Regions from separate parts of the Homo sapiens genome. Here all the other regions are linked to region 1. Evidence: promoter capture Hi-C in 16 types of primary human blood cells and fetal thymus (Javierre and others, 2016). All regions are on one chromosome and are shown on one strand. Each heading gives the region's core, a stretch centred on a gene start or on the middle of the fragment in contact. The rest is flanking DNA. Distances are from core to core; before and after follow the strand shown.

What was found. The method cuts DNA at HindIII sites, captures the fragments that hold promoters and counts their contacts. A CHiCAGO score of 5 or more calls a contact.
Region 2: a contact is called between a fragment that was not itself captured here and the fragment with the promoter of ARL13B in region 1, in 7 of 17 cell types (monocytes, non-activated CD4 T cells, total B cells and 4 more). The highest score is 8.5, in monocytes.
Region 3: a contact is called between a fragment that was not itself captured here and the fragment with the promoter of ARL13B in region 1, in 2 of 17 cell types (fetal thymus and activated CD4 T cells). The highest score is 5.9, in fetal thymus.

Annotation. Positions count from the first base shown.
Region 1 is chr3:93,978,029-93,981,964 of GRCh38, reverse strand. It overlaps ARL13B (ARF like GTPase 13B), which reads right to left and starts at 1,810. Exons shown (of 10, transcript NM_001174150.2): 1 at 1,483-1,810. The coding sequence starts at 1,541. RefSeq lists enhancers at 1,643-1,772, 2,043-2,202. The HindIII fragment of the contact is 5,745 bases long and covers 1,168-3,936 here.
Region 2 is chr3:94,034,011-94,037,946 of GRCh38, reverse strand. It overlaps ARL13B (ARF like GTPase 13B), which reads right to left. Exons shown (of 10, transcript NM_001174150.2): 4 at 2,511-2,616; 5 at 1,193-1,395. Among named protein-coding and RNA genes, the nearest start is that of STX19, 7.4 kb to the right of the region's middle. The HindIII fragment of the contact is 4,506 bases long and covers 1-3,936 here.
Region 3 is chr3:94,013,611-94,017,546 of GRCh38, reverse strand. The region is part of intron 3 of ARL13B (ARF like GTPase 13B); the gene reads right to left. It overlaps STX19 (syntaxin 19), which reads left to right. Exons shown (of 2, transcript NM_001001850.3): 2 at 2,265-3,182. The coding sequence starts at 2,278. The coding sequence ends at 3,162. Among named protein-coding and RNA genes, the nearest start is that of STX19, 13 kb to the left of the region's middle. The HindIII fragment of the contact is 1,965 bases long and covers 905-2,869 here.

The DNA.
Region 1 (3,936 bases), core at 561-3,060:
TGAAATTAGACCAGAATATAATTAAAGCAAATAAATCAGAATCTATGCACCTAAAACAACTCTTTGACTTTTTTCTTTTTTTTTTTTTTTTTTTTTTTTGAGACAGGGTTGCACTGTGTCACTCAGGGAGTGCAGCGATATCGGCTCACTGCAACCTCCGCCTCCCAGGCTCAAGTGATCCTACTGATTCAGCCTCCGAAGTAGCTTGGACTACAGGCGTGCGTCACCGTGCCCGTTTATTTTATTGTAGAAACGGGGTTTCGCCATATTGACCAGGCTGGTCTCGAACTCCAGGGCTCCAAAGATCGGCCAGCTTCGGCCTCCCAAAGTGCTGGGATTACAGGCGTGAGCCACCACACCCAGCCCATCTTTGACTTACAGAGTTGATCTTACTACTTATATTTAAAACATTCAAATTCAGTTAGGAGCTAATAATGGGGAAGAATCTCTAGTTTCATTTAAAGTTACTTTTTTTCCAATCTAGACATGTATTTTCTGTTATAATGTGTAAGTGTAGCTTTTCAGATTCATTCTTTAAAGGATAGTTCATTCTCATGGCAAATATACTTAAAATGTTAACAATTTAAAAAAAAAAACAACTTTGCTTTATCTTACCCTTGGCCCAATTCCAGACTAGAACTATGTGAAGTCAACATTATTTGTGTAACAAACACAAGATCTCTTTATAGGTTAGGCCTCAGTTTCAAAAGCATCAATTTCACTGATTATTTCCTAAGACAGTGCCTGGCACAAGGTATTGTCTTAATAAATATTTTTTGAATGAATGAATATCAAGTAACAGGTACTAATTATTAATACTTCCAGCATTTCAAAATGAAATGTTAAAAAGTGGACCCTTTCAATTAAAAGGTTTTACTAGAGACCGTATAAAAATTGGAAGCTACATTACAGTTAAGAAAACACTATCACTTGTTCTCATTGAATACAATATTTCTAAAGCAGAGTATTATCACTCTCATTTAATATTTAAGAAAGGTGGGGCCAAAATGGTTGAGTCATGTAATTATTAAGTAGTGGAGCCAGATTTCAAGCCCACGTCCTCAAATACAACTGTGTGGAGGTGTGACTTGGAATGGAATGTGCGGATATTATGAAAACTATATTCCATGTCCCCCTCTTTTTAAAAGAATTTCCATTACAAAAGCTTCAGAGGAAAAACACACAATGGATAGTTTTCAATTCCACACACACACACACACACACACACACACACACACTTTTTAACAAATTCAAACCTATTTAAAATATAACAACGGTAAGCATTGTCAATCGCAACAGAAAGTCGACCAGACAACAAGGCTACATCCTCCAATCTCTCCCTCCCGGGACACCCTGGGAATGAAAGCATCCCTTGCGGCCTGGGATAGACTCGTCCAGGCGCGGGGAAAAGGCGGCGCCTCGCCCCTGGGGCGCAGCCATCTCCAACCCCTAGGACGGCCAGGACAGCTGGCTCCAGCCTACCTGACAGGCTCCCGCCACCGCTTGAACCAGCCGCAGCAACTGGCCATCAGACTGAACATCCCGGGTCGCTCCTCCCACCACTTCCCATCCGAGCCCGGAGCGGACACCGGCACCCCGCTCTTCCCCGGGGGCCTCCGGCACTCCGAGACGCCCCTAAAGTGGATAAGTCGGGAGGAAAAGCCGGGAGGGAAGTGAAGGCGGCCGGCCCGAGCACTAAGCCTTGCTAACCGCGTGGGTCCGCGACGACTGCCCTCTTAGCCAAGGAACAACCTGACCAAAGACGCAGATACACCGTAGCCGAGTTAGCGGGACCCGGCTAAAGAAAAGCCCCGCGTCGACGTGCTGACGTTACTTCGAGGCGCGGAAGGCGTTCCCCAGGCAACGCCCGTACTGCGCTCGCCCAATCATCGGTTGAGGTCCTGAGGTAGAGGCCTCTGAGTGGCTGAAGAGTCCTGGCTACCCGCCCCTGCGCGAGACTAGGAAAAGAGAAAGGGGAGTACTCTATAAGAAGGAGGCGGAGCTCGAGGTAGCTCGTTCTCGTAACTAGGCAACCGGAGCGTCCGGAGATAAGCTGGAGGATCCGGGACAAATCTCCAGCAAGGCCTATCTTTATACCTACATAAAATGTGTTGCCAATCCACGGTGCTGTTCCTTTCCTTTCTCCAGTGTCCCCAACTGAGATTCAGAGATCTCAGGTCTTGTGCATGGGTTTTTCTTTTTCTTTCTTTCTTTTTTCTTGTTTTTTGTTTGTTTGTTTTTTGCTCAGGGATGGGGACCCTCTAGAATTCTGGCCGACTTAGGCAGCATGACTACAGGAACAATACACTGGGGCAATTCTTGTAAGTTAAAGACAAGGGGGAAATTCGCTTGCTAAATTTTCTCAGTAGTTCAGATGAGAGTGAAGCCTTAATCTCTAAAACGTTTATTACTGTTACATATGTGAAACGGAATTGTATGATATTTGTTGTAGGGGGGATTGTGATTACAAAAGAAAAATGCATTTCTTGTAGAAAATGTGAAAAATACTAAAAAGAAACAAGATGAAGAAAATGAGATCTCACAGGAGCTCTCAAAGATAACCATTTGGGGCCGGGCGCGGTGGCTCACGCCTGTAATCCCAGCACTTTGTGAGGCCGAGGCGGGCGGATCACGAGGCCAGGTGATCTAGACCATCCTGGCTAACATGGTGAAACCCCGTCTCTAGTAAAAATACAAAAAAAAAAAAACAAAAAAAAACAAAAACGGGTGTGGTGGCACGCGCCTGTAGTCCCAGCTACGCTGGAGACTGAGGCAGGGGAATTGCTTGAACCCGGGAGGCGGAGGTTGCAGTGAGCCGAGATCGCGCCACTGCACTCCAGTCTGGGCAACAGAGCAAGACTCCGTCTCAAAAATAAATAAATAACCATTTTGATGTATGTTTGTTTCAGGATTTTTAGGTACATAAATTGCTGGCTATTTGGTATCTGCAAGATGAAGATTGTTATCTCTTGACTGTTTTGTAATAGTTTATTTTTTAAAGAGGTATGTAATATTTGCATTTCTTTTATATACTTTGGAGAAAAAGAAATGACAAGGACATTCCTGTAGGGAAAAAATTATGCACAATATGTAGGGATCTGTGTGTCCATTCATTTTCTACTTAAATAAATATTTTCAAATCCTGATGAAAGGATAGAAGGCACTGAGAATCCCAGTGTATTCGCGGGGAATATAATGATTTGAGACTAAGATACATATAGGTTTTAAATTAGTCTCTGTCCTTTACTAAATCATGTAACTTTTTTTGGTTTTGTTTTGTTTTGTTTGAGACAGAGTCTCCCTCTATCACCCAGGTTGGAGTACAGTGGCATGATCTCGATTCACTGCAACCTCCGCTTCCTGGGGTCAAGTGATCCTCCTTCCTCAGTCTCCCAAGTAGCTGGGACTAGAGACGTGCACCATCACGCCCAGCTGATTTTTGTATTTTTTGTAGAGACAGGGTTTCATCATGTTGCCCAGGCTGGTCTCAAACTCCTGGCCTCAAATGATCCGCCTGCCTCGGCCTCCCAAAAGTGCTGGGATTATAGACATGAGCCATGGCACCCAGCCTCATGTAATTTTAATTCAAATTTATATACATCTCATACAGCTTGCTATCTCCAAAATACTGTGCCTTATGGGGAACAAAGGGGGTGATACCTTTTCTTCTCATCATAACAGTCACAGCCAACACTCATATAACAAAAAGAATAGCAAGAGAAAAGCATAACAAATTTATTTAATCCAAGTTTTATGTGACATGGGAACCTTGCAAATGGAGATGCAAAGATGCAGGGAAGACTACCCATTTTTATACTTGGGTTCGATGAAGAATGAAAAACCCTGAAGAACTCTCATTGGTCAAAAAGGATATGACCTAATGAGAGCAGACTGTGTGGAGAAACTCAGCAAGGCCTGTCTGTTCAGATTCCTCTT
Region 2 (3,936 bases), core at 919-3,418, 56 kb before region 1:
GGTCTCAGACCACAACTGGCATGGATAAAGAGAAAGAAAGAAAGGGTAAGGAGTATTGGAAAAGCCTGCCATAACATGATCTAGAATATCATTATGGAAAAGGCAAAAACATTTAAAAAGTTACTAACATTAGATTTCTTTTATCCAACTCAATTTTTTTGTTGCTTCTGTTTTTATTTTCTTAGTGGAGGAAAAGGAGTTTTCACATAATTATGGCCATATATTTAATTTTTATAAATATTATATATAAAAGGTATACTTAACATGCATGATTGGTTGTACTGAGCTTTATATGATAAAAATACATACTAAGAAAAAAACAAATATTCTCACAGGAACTAAAACCTTGTATCAACAGCTGCCAAAATCATTCACTCTAATCTGTCTTTTATATAAAGAGATCCCTAGATGAAAGGCACGCTCATATTATTGAGCACTTGGGGATAGAGAGTCATTTCTATAAATATTTCTTTAAGTCCTATTGATGAATTAAATGAAAAATACCAGTTATCAGAGGATTTCCTTCACGGTATAAGGAAGTACCTCATAATGGGTCACCAAGGGTAGTGAGTTCTTGCTCACTGGGCTACAACTATGTTAAACTACATAAAAGGCCAGATGGAAGGCAACTATGGATCAGATTTTGCTTGAGTTGAATGATTCTCTAGCAGCTCACCTTCTATCCTTGCTGAAACTAAAAAGGTTCCTCAGTCTCAACGTTATTGACATATTAAGCCTGATAATTCTTTGTTGTGGGAGACTGTCCTGTGTGTCATAGGATGTTTAGCTGCATCCCTGGCCTCTACCCAATAGATTCCAAGTAGTACTCCACTCCTTCCCCTAGTGGTGAAAACTAAAAATGTCTCCAGACACTGCCAAATGTTAAAAACTACCCTGTGCATTGAGAACCACTGCACTAAGGTACCCACAAGCAATCAGAGACAAAAATTTAAAACTCTGGAAGACAATGGCTACGTAAGGAGTAAATTTAACTATTATACAACCACCAGAAAAATTAGGAATCTACCACCCAAACTTGTACAGAAAAAGATCCACAGAAATACAAAATTTACCTAGTGTCTTCCTTCACACAGAAAGAAGAAACTGAACAGATAAAACTAACAACTGATTCATAAAATTGTTATGTTTTTGATCCTTCAAATGCACTGTGGTACAAAATTAATCTACTTACCTTTCTTCTCGTAATTTTCGCACTCGTTCAGCTCTTTCTTGTTTCTCTTGTTCCTCAAGAGCACGCTGCTCTGTTGTCTCTTTTTGGATGCGTTCATTTAAGGCATCAAAGTCTCTTGCAATAACATGTAGCAGCCAATAAAGGCCTTTTTTAATGGACTTGTCAATTTTCTTTCCATACCCCGAGATTGCTGAACATGGTTCCTAAAACAGAAATTTATTTGACTAAAAGATTAAAAGGTCTCCACACAAATCTATTCATAAACCATTAAGTATAATTAATGGCAAATCAAAATTAAGCCATTTAAGTTAATAATATGAAGCATCTGCTTATTTAACTTCCAAAACATAGCACTGCAATGATTAACATCAGTATATAGAACTTAAAATATTTTACAGATAACATCTGTACACTATGTAAGATATTATAAAGAAGAGGGTGACAGTGCCACTTATAATATTAGAAGAAAAAATTTAACTACCATAAAAAGACATCTCTATTGATTAAAAATGCCAGGAAGTTTTAATTCCTTATACTACAATATACAGCAGTAAACATCCATAAGATTGACAGCCTAATGTTTTTTGAAACCAAAATAAATTATTAAATCCACTGTTCATCTTCCTTAAGACTGTATGACATCTCTCCTGATATGATTTATCTTTTCTTTTTTTGTTTTTTAGAGGCAGTGTCTCATTCTGTTGGCCAGGCTGGAGTGCAGTGGCTGAATTAGAACTCACTGCAGCCTCAGCCTCCCAGGGTCCAGTGGTCTTCCCACCTCAGCCCCCTCAAGCAGCTGGGACTACAGGAACACACTACCACACCCAGCTAGTTTTTGTATTTTTTGTAGAGCTAGGGTCTCACTATGTTGCCCAGGTTGGTCTCAAACTCCTGGGCTCAAGCAATCTGCCCCCTTCAACCTCCCAAAGTGCTGGGATTACAGGCATGAGCTACCATGCCCAGCAAAATAATTTTTCAAAATTCATTATGAATCTCTCATATGTTTAAATTTTGTATTTACACTTTTCTTTCCCATTTTACAAATTTCATGCCATGATGTGTTGGCTATGTTAAAACGCAAATGTGAAGCTCCTTGAAATCATGGAAAGATAGTTCATGGAAATAACAATGAAATAGACAACAAATATTATGGTATTAAGTTATATCAACAGAAAAATGGGAATGTGATTTCATAGGTTACAAAAAATTCTTTGAAAACATTGCCTTTTAATTGCTATCACTTTTATAAAAACCAAGTTATACTGAACCTATTTGAAAGGACAAAAAATTAAAATTAAAAAAAAAAAAAAAACCTTACTATCTGACACAGGCACTTGTGCTCATTGACCAATTTTTCCAGAGATAGACATTCAATGACATCAGCTTCTCCTAAAGCTCCTTCTTTATCTTGTTTATTTGCCAACCTGAAAGATAATTAAAGTACTTTTATACAGCATATATATAATTGGATGGAAACTTAAAGATATTTTGACCACATTCTTTTTTTTTTTTTTTTTTGAGACTGAGTCTTGCTCTGTTTCCCAGGCTGGAGTACAGTGGTGCAATCTCAGCTCACTGCAACCTCCGCCTCCCAGGTTCAAGTGATTCTCCTGCCTCAGCCTCCAGAGTAGCTGGGACTACAGTTGTGTGCCACCACGCGAGGCTAATTTTTTGTATTTTCAGTAGAGACTGGGTTTCGCCATGTTGGCCAGGCTGGTCTTGAACTCCTGACCTCAAGTGATCTGTCAGTCTCAGCCTCTCAAAGTGCTGGGATTACAGATATCATCCACCATGCCTGGCCTGACCACATTCTTTGATTCCCAAGTTTTAAATGTACTGATTACAGAACACACTAGTATCTTAAAATGTTGTAGCATCAATTTTGTCATTTTTCCCTTATTATTGCTAAAATAGTTTTTAAGTACTGGCCTATAAAAGGAAAATCAAATAAAGTGTCAAGAAAACATAAACAAGAGATCAATATGCCAACAAAACAGAAAAAGCTACAAAACAGAAAAATAAGAGGACTAATTTCCACAGGTCACATCCATAAATTATATTCTTATCTTCTTAAAATACAAACTGTAATGTTTTAAATGCCCAAATATTCATTCTGAACTTTTAATATTTGAGCTCATCTACAATTCTAATGTGTGAATGTGTCCACATAAATGTGCAATTTACTGAAGACCCAAGGCCACTTCTAATATACTTGGCAAAGCACTGGGAATTAAAAAAAAAAAAAAAATTGTACTCAATTAGAGACAAACTGGACACCAACAAAATGGAAAACCAATATATTCTACAGAAAAACAGGATTTACCACAATTTACCACTATTTAATTATATAACATAGATTTAAAAGTTTAATAAAATACTGCCTTGCTCAAAGTTTGACAGACTCTTTAGGTTAAAAAAAAAATTAAGTACATAGACTAAGAAATCTAACGAACCCTTCCCACCTATCTTTAAAAATTATCAAAACTGTGTCATTCTTGCTTATCTATATACCTTCTTTTTTTTTGTATTTCCCAAGTTACCATTAAAATCTACATACCTTCTATTTTGCTGCCTGAATCACATTACTTCACCCAGATATTAAAAAATCATTACCATGATACCACTATCACACCTAACAAAATTAACAGTAAGTCTTCAATATTACTCAATTTACTCAATATTCTCCAATATCATTTTACAAGTGTTATGTTTAAATTCAGGTCCAATATACGTTACTTATCACT
Region 3 (3,936 bases), core at 638-3,137, 36 kb before region 1:
AAATACCAGTCCTTTAAAACCAAAGGAATATTACCAGGACATTGGTTTAACCTTTTACCCAAAACAGGCATCATTTCTGTAACATGCCTGCCTGGAGTCATCATTCCAGAACATCTTGAAAATGTCCAGTGATGGCAAACTCAGCACCTCATGAAGCAGCTCATTTCATCTTGGGAAAGCAATATTTGTTTGAAAAGTCTTCTTTATATTGAATCAAACCTCTTTCCATGTAATTTCCACCCACTGCCCTTTGGAGTTATGCCAAGTAAGTCTAATCTCACTTGCATACACAGACCTTTGTTTAGAAGACAGCTGTATACACACCCTACATCTTCTCTTTTACAGGACAAATATTACCATTTATTTCAATGAGTCTCCATTTGGTATGGTTTTCCAATCTCATCCTTTCCATGCTAGTCTGGTAATTCCTAACTTAAGAACTTCCATCTCAAAATATGCTCAGAAGTTTATTGAGTTCCCCTTACCCTTGCAATTTGCTCTGAATAGCATAGAGTTGGCAGAGTTTAGTCTATCCATACATCAGACTATTATTTATAAAAGCATAGTGACTATTCTGATGGTTCTGACAGAAAGCTTAATTAGGCTGGGAGCGGTGGCTCACACCTGTAATCCCAGCACTTTGGGAGGCCAAGGTGGGCGGATCACGAGGTCAGGAGTTTGAGACCAGCCTGGCCAATATGGTGAAACCCTGTCTCTACCAAAAATACAAAAATTAGCCGGGCATGGTGGCAGGCACCTGTAATCCCAGCTACTCAGGAGGCTGAGGCAGGAGAATCACTTAAACCCGGGAGGCAGAAGTTGCAGTGAGCTGAGGTCGCACCACTGCATGCCAGCCGGGGCATCAGAGCAAGACTCCATCTCCAAAAAAAAAAAAAAGAAAGCTTAATTAATTAAAATCTCCAATACTTTCATAGACACTATTGTGAACCCAAGGGTCTTCTACTCTGTAGATACGAAAATATTTTTCTTATAGCTAGATGAAATATTTTAAATCTATTCCTGTTAAATATATTTTTGTTATTTTTAGTATAAAGTTCCACACTATTTTAATATTTGAATCCCTACCCTGTACTTCAACATACTAAAGATTCCTCCAAATTTTACACCATCTACACATTTGTTAAGTATGCCTCCTATGACAACATCCAGATTAATAGAAATATTTCCATAAACATATCAAACACTGAGTCCTACAGCATAACAGCATCACATTCAGAGACCTTTTTTTTCTGGTTGATATTAATATTATATGTGGTCCAATGAGCTATCTGTACTCCCTAACAGCCTCTTCTTATCTTCAAAAATGTCTTGAAAGACATTTCTAAAATCAAGTTGCTCTGTGATAATAGCATTTTACTGCTTTTTATTCCCTTCATTTTATATGTATGTATGTCATTTCATATATATCTATATCATTAAATATAAATTATGTACATCAATTTGATTCTTACAGATAACTACCAACACAGCATGTGATAAGTGTCAATATCATTATTACTCCTAAAATAAGATTGTATATAAATATATTCTCATGTTTATAAAAGTATCACCTAACACAAATTGATATAAATTTTGTTCTAAGACAGTCTGGATATCTTTGCAAAAGAATGCTAAGAATGAGAAATCAGCATAATCAAACCAATGTTTTCACATATATGCAACAGCTAGAAAAAACATTATGCCAAGTAATACGTTAATTCAGAGGCTTCGGAAAATTTAAAATAAATTCAATATTATCCATATAGCTTAACGTTCTCATATAAAATCTGTACTGTCACTACAATGGTTTTAACTGAATGATGCATATTTAGCAAAATGAGTATTTTTTAATATTACATTGGCCAAATTAACCGGAAACAGTATCTTTAGTAACAAGGGCATTTTTGGCATCTGAAGACTAATCCTATAGGTTGAAGGTATAGTCAAAAGCATTCTTTATTACAAAAAAAAACTATCATGTGACAAATATTTTTGACCAACTGTGTCTGCATCACTGCTTTCTCAGCTATTGCACACAACTAAATAGCACTCACATGCAAAGTAACTTACAAATTATTTTATATTTCTTTCCCTATTTAAATGGTTTTTATGAGGAAACTCATTGGTTTTTTCTAACTTTTTAACCTCATTTGAGAAAACTAGGAGAACTTTTGCTGGGATATAGACAGTTATGTGAAGTCAACTGCTACTGGGGAAAAATACCAAATTTCTACTTGTTCAACACAAAAATTTTTGCTTCTTAGGAGGAAAGGGAAGATGAAAGACCGACTTCAAGAACTAAAGCAGAGAACAAAGGAAATTGAACTCTCTAGAGACAGTCATGTATCAACTACAGAAACAGAGGAACAAGGGGTGTTTCTACAGCAAGCTGTTATTTATGAAAGAGAGCCTGTAGCTGAGAGACACCTACATGAAATCCAAAAACTACAGGAAAGTATTAACAATTTGGCAGATAATGTTCAAAAATTTGGGCAGCAACAGAAAAGTCTGGTGGCTTCAATGAGAAGGTTTAGTCTACTTAAGAGAGAGTCTACCATTACAAAGGAGATAAAAATTCAGGCAGAATACATCAACAGAAGTTTGAATGATTTAGTTAAAGAAGTTAAAAAGTCAGAGGTTGAAAATGGTCCATCTTCAGTGGTCACAAGGATACTTAAATCTCAGCATGCTGCAATGTTCCGCCATTTTCAGCAAATCATGTTTATATACAATGACACAATAGCAGCAAAGCAAGAGAAGTGCAAGACATTTATTTTACGTCAGCTTGAAGTTGCTGGAAAAGAGATGTCTGAAGAAGATGTAAATGATATGCTTCATCAAGGAAAATGGGAAGTTTTTAATGAAAGCTTACTTACAGAAATCAATATCACTAAAGCACAACTTTCAGAGATTGAACAGAGACACAAGGAACTTGTTAATTTGGAGAACCAAATAAAGGATTTAAGGGATCTTTTCATTCAGATATCTCTTTTAGTAGAGGAACAAGGAGAGAGCATCAACAATATTGAAATGACAGTGAATAGTACAAAAGAGTATGTTAACAATACTAAAGAGAAATTTGGACTAGCTGTAAAATACAAAAAAAGAAATCCTTGCAGAGTACTGTGTTGTTGGTGCTGTCCATGCTGTAGCTCAAAATAAAGAAGCTATTTTAAAACTTTTTCCAGCTTTACGGTAAAAGATAGCTTATATTTCAGTGTCTTGTATTGTTTTTCTCCATCTCATGGATCCACTCACATACCTTTCATCACTGTTAAGTTGTAATTTTCCCCTTTAACCCTAACCCACTAAAATTTCAGAAACTTCTGTAGCCAGTTACATAAAACACACTTTTATTTAATTAAAGTACAAAAAAATACAGTTACCATCAACTCACAAATTAACTATTGAAAATGAGATGCATAATCTTAGTCTTCTGGTCAGGTATCAAGCTCTATATTATACATTTCTCTCATGTGTTAAGTAGTAATGACTACCTAGGCAATCCATTTGGCTGACTGGAGAATATTTTAATAGTTAAGAATCATGCTACAATAAAGCTAAACCAAACTAGAACCTTTATCAAATCTTTTCTCTTTTGAGACAGAGTTTCACTCTGTCACCCAGGCTGGAGTGCAGTGGCATGATCCTGGCTCACTGCAATCTCCACCTCCCAGTTTCAAGCGATTCTTGTGCCTTAGCCTCCTGAGTAGCTGGGATTACAGGTGTGCACCACCACACTCGGTTAATTTTTGTATTTTTAGTAGAGGGGGTGGTTTTGCTATGTTGGCGAGGCTGGTCTCAAATTCCTGACCTCCAGTGATCCGCCCCCCTGGGCCTCCCAAAGTGTTGGAATTACAGGTGTGAGCCACCATGCCCAGCCCTTTATCAAATCTTTTATCCTCAGAAGGTAACTTAACTCAATGTCAACAGATC